Regions from separate parts of the Homo sapiens genome. Here region 2 is linked to region 1. Evidence: promoter capture Hi-C in human tissues and cell types (Jung and others, 2019). All regions are on one chromosome and are shown on one strand. The core of a region is centred on a gene start or on the middle of the fragment in contact, and the rest is flanking DNA. Distances in the headings are between cores, read along the strand shown.

Region 1 (4,049 bases), core at 768-3,267:
GATACCCAGAAGGGGGAAAAATGTCCTGGACAATTCTGTTTCTTTTTCTTTCTTTTTTTTTGAGACAGTTTTGCACTGTCACCCAGGCTGGAGCTTAGTGGCACCATCACCATCATAGCTCACTGCAGCCTCAAACTTTGGACTGAAGCAATCTTTCTGCCTTGGCATCCCAAGCACCTGGGACTACTGGTGTACATCACCACAACCGCACTTTTAATTTTTTTTTTTTTTTTTTTAATAAAGAAGGGACCTTGCTATGTTGCCCGGGGTGGTCTTGAACTCCTGGATTCCAGCCATCCTCCCACCTCAGCGCCCAAAAGTGCTGGGATTACAGGCCTGGACAATTCTTTATAAGTGGTATTATGGAAAAGAGATGTGGCACAAGGAAATCTGCGAAGGAACCCACGATGTTCTGTCCAAGTTGTTAACAACTAGACGTTTTAAAAGGCATTTATAAAAATTAATAGTCTTACCTTTTGATTATCCTTCCTTCTCTATGGTGTGTTACAAAAATTCCACATCTTACAAGCCCATGAAAATAAATTCCCATGAGAGTTTGAAAACTTTTTGCAGAATAATGTCCCAATTTTAGTTACTGGTGGCCAATATTTACCAGCTTGAGAGGTGGTCTTTTATTACCCTTACTGGCTGGTAACATTTATGACACAGAAACTTGCAATAGGTTGGATGGAATCCTTTCAATATGAAAAGTAATTATAAACAGGTGAAGGTAGAATGGCAACTTTCGTGTTGGCTTTGTTAATGTTTTGCACGTAATCCCTCTGTCAAAGTGTCTTAAACAATAAAACAACAAGCAAAAATCTCACACATACACACACACACATGCACACACACATTTTGTTTTCAAAGACCACGGTGTAAAATGAAGATACACACACGTTATCCTGTAAGTTGTGGATCTTTGGTTGGCTAGTTGGTTATGATGTTTTTTCCCCTACTCAGCTCTAAAAAAACATCCTCGGCAAGGTGAGGTGGCTCACGCCTGTAATCCCAGCACTTTGGGAGGCCGAAGCGGGCGGATCACCTCAGGTTGGGAGTTCGAGACCAGACTGACCAATGTGGAGAAGCCCAGTCTCTACTAAAAATATAAAATTAGCCCGGCGTGGTGGCGCATGCCTGTAATCCCAGCTACTCTGGAGGCTGACAGAGGAGAATCGCTTGAACCCGGGAGGAGGAGGTTGCGGTGAGCCGAGATCACGCCATTGCACTCCAGCCTGGGCAACAAGAGTAAAACTCCGTCTCAAAAAAAAAAAAAAAAAAAAAAAAAAAATCCTCAAAGCCAACCCACCTGCCAAGAGGAGGGAAGGAGGTGATACTCGAGCCTTACTCTCGAATCAAGAAAAGGGAGTAGGCCTTGGGGAAATGTGGCTTTCAAAATTCATGCCATATTTGCCCAAGCCAAGTCGCTAGCTGGTCCCTGCAACCACCCACACACCCCACTGCCTTCTTCCTAGGAAAAACCAGACTCTGCCCTGTTACCTACGCGCCCGACTCGCGGGGCGCTGTTCGTTCAAGACTCGCCCCAAAGAGCGCAGGAACGCGAGCCGCAGCAGTTTCAGGGTTCAGCTTAGGTGACACAAACGTAGCTAATGGGAGGCCGCCGCCGACTCTCCCACCCGCCCTTACCAGCATCCCCGCGCCTCTCCCCGCCACCCTTGCCCGGCGCGCCGGCGATGCCCTCTGCCCGCGGGGACCCGAGCCTCGCGCGCCCTCCGCCCTCCCTACCCTGGACCCTGTACCCATCACACCTGGGGCACTGCCGTCCGCCGAGCTTGGGCGCGCGGCAGCGAGAAGGCACTGGAGGAGGAGCAGCCGGGGCGTACGCGCCCTGGCCTCCAGCAGGCCGGGGAGGGCGCGCATGGCGCCAGAGGGTCCGCCTGGGTCCTCGTGGAGACTGCTCCCTCAGCTCGCCGCCGCGGGTGTCCAGAGTCCCTGCGCACACTCGCAGGTGGCCCGGCGCTCGCAGCCAGTGCCGCGGGTAGGACGCTGAAGAAAAGGCGGAATGGGAGGGGCCCGGCCGCCTTGCCCCACTCCCCCGAGACGCTCTTACCGCGCCCGGCCCTCCATCAGTTATGCAGCCCTCAGCCGGCTGCTGGCGTTCCCGGATGTGCGGTGGCGGTGCTACTTCCCGGCTGCAGCCTCTCCGGCCTCCGCCCTCTCGGCTCTAGCAGGTCGGGAGAGAGCTTGGGCAGGTGATGTCTAGCCAATCTCGTGGGGAGAGGTCGAAACTCTGCCTACAGACTGGCCTTTGCACTTCACCTGAGGCAGGTTTCACTAATTTGCTTTGATGGGACAGATGAGAAACACTTTTCTCCTCCCGGACCCCGGACATCTTTGGGCTTTCTTACGAGGGAGGCTTATTTTTGCGCAGGTGTAAGGTTTTATCCAGCTGCCAGACAACTTGTGTTAATCTTTCTTTGCTTTGCCTACCAATCACACACATTCTCTCTTCTAGTCTCTGAAGGCTTAACTGATTTTCTCCGGATGAAGGTTTTAGAGTCCCAAGGCCCCATACCGTGTCTGATTTTACTTTATTTTTGTTTGTTAAGCCTAACAGCTTCTGAGGAGCCACCTAGAGCTCAAGAAGCAAAAGCTACTGAGAGTAGATACTATGTAAACTGCACAAGACATTGACCTTTGTTAAATCCGAACACTCTTTAAGATAATGCTCTTACCCACAAGGCTGTAGCTTGGAATATTCAGTGCTCTGAACCAAATTAAATAAATTAGTGCTTTATCCGGGAGGGGAGGAGAAATCTATATTGTAACATTGAAACACATTGATTTGATTTCTCTCCAGGATGTTATAACGCATTAAAAGATATTTTTAAAATTTTTCACGAGCTTTGTTTCCTCTCCCTTTATTTTTTTGAAGTTCAGCTTTCACATTCGTAAATTCAAAATATATCGGCGTTAAAAAAAAAAGGATTGGAAATAACATGAGACAAATTTTGAAAATTGAGCTATTTAACAAAACCTGTGTTTATTCCAGGCAGGAATGGTTAATTTGTAATTGGTACGTATTACTAAAACACGTCTGTTTCTGGTTTAGTATTATATGCACAAAACTTTGGAAACAGAATGTAGATTCTTCAAATTGGCAGTGAGATAATATGAATAATACAATTCATTCAACAATATTATCTACCAGGTGCCAATCTACCATTGTGTTCAAAAGAGGCTAGATAGGCACACATGCACAAATGCACGCATGCACACATGTACACACACACACACACAAATTAGACAACTGTTTATCTGTGAATGACAAATCTCAGAAAAGCCTCTTCTCAGAAAATTATGGTCAAAATTATTAAAATCTTCTGAATGAAACTTTAAAAGATGCCTTCAAGGACTAAATCTTATACACTGTTGACCCTCTGAGGGCATTGACTGGGCTTGCTAAACCCAAATTGCCTAATCAATGGCTGCTACATCACACCTCTTTCTTTCAACCCTGCATCTGGTCTCAGGACTAACTGCACACATTTCCCTATAATTAGGTAGAGTGTCAACAGTAAGCACTTCTCACCTCAAACTAAACTCTGACTGACTTTTCCCAGTTAGTCTCATAAAATCCTTAGACACAAATTCACCCTTCTTAAAGAAACATTTTTTTCAGTTGAATCAGCCTATTTATGACCAGAAAAACTTACTTACCCAAGTTGATGCTGATCCCCACTGTTGCTTTTGCTGTTGGAACAAAAGAGTTGAGAAAGAAATATAATTCTCATTTTGCTAAGCATTTTGAAAGTCTTTTCATCACTGTTCCTGTTCTATATTTAGATATTTGATATTTCCAGCCTTATGTACATTCCACTTTTTCAAATGCTCCATATCCTTTAAAACAAGCTTATTGACTGCCTTCCCTATATAACTTTTTCTATCCCTGATTCACCTTTCAAAATTCATCTCAGAGTATTGCAGTTCTGAGAACCTCTGCACTCCTGGGGAATTCTCACTCTGTCGCTCAGGCTGGAGGGCAGAGGCACATTCACGGCTCACTGCAGCCTTGACCTTCTGGGCTC
Region 2 (4,049 bases), core at 709-3,208, 130 kb after region 1:
TATAAACCAAAAAAAAAAAAAAAGAAAAAAGATTTTCTTAAAAAGAAAAAACATACTAAATATTTGTGATGATAATGAAAATTTGGTGGTGGGAGAGAAAAAAATGTTGTTGTTTTATTTTGCTATATTTATGATGTCTCAGTATTCTTTCTACTTGTTCTCCCTTTAGCAATCCAAGCGTTGTTAGGGAAGAAATGGCCGACTTTAAATTCAAGTTGAATTCTCTAAACTCCAGAAGGAAGTATTGTCACTTCCGAAGCCAAAATAAAAATTTTGTCTTTATTCTTATTATATTCTCCAGGGAAATTTCAGCTCCTCAATGCAGTCCCCAGAGACATGCTGCTGAAAGGCTCTTTGGATATGCTGCTGAAAGGCTCTTTAGCTACTCTGAAGAAAAAGATCTCAAACTTCCCCTGAGATCCACTATAATTGCTGGTTTTAGATATTTATACATAGAAAGTCTTTCTTCTCAAAATAACTTTTCAGAGAAGTATTTTCCAAAACTATCATTAATATTAAAATTCCATGATAAAGGAGTTAACCTCATATCAAACCAGGAAGGTTGTAAACACGTTTTATGAATACCTAAGGAATCCATTGCAAATAAGAAAATGAAAGTACACAAAAGAAAGTGTTTTAAGCCATCAGGAAGAATTGTGTTCCATTTAGCTCTTGCCATGGTTACTCTTCTATTTTGTTTTCCTTCAGTGTTTATAAAATTAGTCAATGCTATTTTATTTTATTTTTATGATTACCTTTGGATGTATCATTATAAATAACCAATAAATTTTTTCCTTCTGAAAGGTAAACTTGCACATTATTGTGTATGCAGTTAGCATTCAAAGAATACTTACAAATTATCTACTAATCTGAGTGATATGAAATTTCCATTTTCATGAATTGAATGTAATTTTATCAACAATCTCACATGCCAAAGCTCATATCTAATTCTTGGCAGTCACCTTTTCTAAATCAACTAGCTTATATTTTATTTGTGAATATCTTTTAAAAATTCAGGTTTGTCTGTTCATGTCACAAAAGTTTAGCGAAATTTTTTCTCTTCTTAGTGTAAACATTTGCTCTTTATGACAAGTAAATCATATTTCTTCATAGTATAATTATTTCAAGTATTTAAAAAATATTTTCCTTTATAAGTTGTGTGTGTGTGTGTGTGTGTGTGTGTGTGTGTGACAGAGTCTCACTCTGTCACCCAGGCTGGAGTACAGTGGCATGATCTCTGCTCACTGCAACCTCCACCTCCCAGGTTCAAGTGATTCCCCTGCTTCAGTCTCTTGAGTCGCTGGAATTATAGGTGCCTGCCACCATGCCCAGTGAATTTTTGTATTTTTAGTAGATACGAAGTTTCGCCATGTTGGCCAGTCTGGTCTCAAACTCCTGACCTCAAGTGATCCACCCACCTCAGCCTCCCAGAGTACTGGGATTATAGGTGTGCACCACAACACCCAGCCTCTTATAAGTCTTAACACACTTTTCTGTAAGTCACTGATTTTAATTATATTCATTTAATGTTAAAGAAAAAAAGTGTGAGTAGGTGAATTAAACCAGAATATTTCAGCTTTGTGTTTTCTTAGACTCGATATACTATCTATATGCATATAAATCACAAATTAGCTAACAATGTTATTTTTAAACACTATTTTAAAATTGAGTTTATCCAAACATAAAAAGGCAAATTCCTTATGTTACCATTGCACCAGGGGCTTAGTTAGGTTTTTTAACTATTTCAGTAACAGTCAATCCTAGAACATTTTTCTTTATCCTACTCTCTTTCTTTCCCTCTTACAACAGAATATTTCACAATGAGAAATACAAATCTCCCTGTATGCTACAAATAGAAATCACGAATGTTGATAATGTCTAATAAAAGCATACGTAAGATGACTGTACATGTTTCATCACTGATTAAACTGTTATATTTTTTCTCTCCCACAAACCAACAGGATGTCCACAAATAATACATAACATTATAAAGATGACACACTCAGATTGTCACTGTGTTCTCTTTACTGCCTTTTCTATTCTCTTTTCTATAATGTAGTTCACTTTGCAAGATCGTTTGTCTACTAAAATGTGGACATAGCTATGCTTTCAAAATGTTGGTATCCCAGAGCACCTGCATTTCCCAGAAGGTAATTCTAGTTCTTTCCCTTAATGTTTAATAAGATTCTTTGTCTATATAATGAATTCACTCATCCACATCTCAGTTTTCTACCCTTTAATTTTAGTGTATGTGCATTTAGAGATTGTTTTGATTATTCTCTATGCTCTTTTCTTGGGCAGATGCTTTTTTGCTTACCTAGGAATTTTATGTTGACTTTATCTAATAGTTATGTAAACACTTTCATGTGCCAATTCTGCATTGTCCCAGTTCCAGTTTCAGCAGCCCCTCAGAGATGTTCATTCACAATCTTATCATTTGTTTCTTACACAGCAGAATATGCAAGATATTACATATTCTGGTATGAATATGTAATATACATAAACATATTCATATACTTCATGTACATGTGCCCTGGCCACATAGCTGATCCACTGTTAGAACTTGTCTCCAGGGTTTTAATTTCTCTCTCTCCTTTATATTGAAACTAGAAACCAAACTCTAGACAGTCTTACACTGAGTTTTCCTAGTCATTAATCTATGTCTTCATAGCTTAATTTTGAATAACAAGTGCAAAAATCACACTATTTTTTCTGTTGGATTGTCAAAATAAGATTGGTTACCAAATGACATGGCTGTCTTCTGAAGCTCTAACAAATAGGAGAATCATAAAGTCAAGTTGGTTCTATTAAAGTGAACGAGTAAAATCCTCTCTGTGACTGAAGGACTGAAAAGAAAAAGGCAGCCCTGCTGTTAATCAGGCAGGGAGGACAGATGGATAAAGGCAGCTGCAAAGTTAACAGCAAATGTTTTTTCCAAGGTCTTGTAGCAGCTATAAAATGCCATCATGATTCTCTCCTTGAGTGACCACTGCTTTGTTACCCATGACACCCCCAGACCTGCTTTGTCACATCTGTTATTGGGGATATCCAGTTGCTAAACTGCCCTCATCTCAAGACAGTACTCAGTTCCTAGCTAATTCTCACTTCTCCTAATCTTGCAACAGAAAGATTATCCAACCCAGAGATGCTCTCCATTCCCTTAGAGCTTGCTCATAACCCTCCAGCAGGAACCCAAATCTTGTAGAGTGCACATTTGAGGTTCTCTGGAATGTGCTCCCTTTCCTGCAAATCAATAAATCTGATTTTGTCAAACTATAGGTTTGAGCTGGGTAGTCTTTGGCTGGTTAAGCTTTGACAGATATCAAATAGAAAATATAGAAGAAAAAGAAACTGGAGAGTTTGAATAATCTTGTCAGATATTTGGAGTTTTAAAATAAGATTTCCCAAATGTCAGAAGTTTTTTCCAGGGCCTATACATTATAAGAAAAAAGTCTTTTAAAAATCAAATGTTTTCAAGAAACACAAAGTATTTCAGGCTTCATGATTTCTCCCAGAGTTGACAACTTCCAAAAATAAAAATTTCTTCCTTTAAAATTGCTTTAAGTATTCTCACCACACACACACACACACACACACACACACACAAATAGGTATATGAGGAGAATTTTTTAAATTAGTGAAAAAATTAATTAAAAATAAAATATAAACTTTATTTCTCAACATAAGCTCCATCAAGTTCAAGGCACTTCTTTAAGAGTTGATACCAGGCATTTAGTTTATCCCTAAAGAACTGAGAGTCCTGGGAATTTAAAAATGTTAATGCAGTCTTTTTTACACTATTAACTGAAGAAAAATGAGGGTCCTTTAATCGTTTTTTTTAATTAAAAAGAAAAGTCAGAAGGAGACAAATCAGGACTGTAAAGTGGATGCCTAAAAATTTTATATTGAAACTCTCAAAAAATTGTACTTGCTTGGTGAGAGGAATTAGCAGGAGCATCGTTGTGGTGGAGAAAGACTCTATAACGAAGCTTTTCTGGGTATTTTTCCGCTAAAGCTTTGGCTAACTTTCTCAAAACATTCTCATCATA

What was found. The method cuts DNA at HindIII sites, captures the fragments that hold promoters and counts their contacts. A contact is called where the count stands out against the background at its distance.
Region 2: a contact is called between a fragment that was not itself captured here and the fragment with the promoter of EMB in region 1, in 1 of the 25 tissues and cell types used here (H1 embryonic stem cells).

The regions. Positions count from the first base shown.
Region 1 is chr5:50,439,271-50,443,319 of GRCh38, forward strand. It overlaps EMB (embigin), which reads right to left and starts at 2,018. Exons shown (of 9, transcript NM_198449.3): 1 at 1,770-2,018. The coding sequence starts at 1,881. RefSeq lists silencers at 1,562-1,751, 1,832-1,961. The HindIII fragment of the contact is 6,914 bases long and covers 995-4,049 here.
Region 2 is chr5:50,573,982-50,578,030 of GRCh38, forward strand. No RefSeq gene overlaps it. Among named protein-coding and RNA genes, the nearest start is that of PARP8, 91 kb to the right of the region's middle. The HindIII fragment of the contact is 3,381 bases long and covers 269-3,649 here.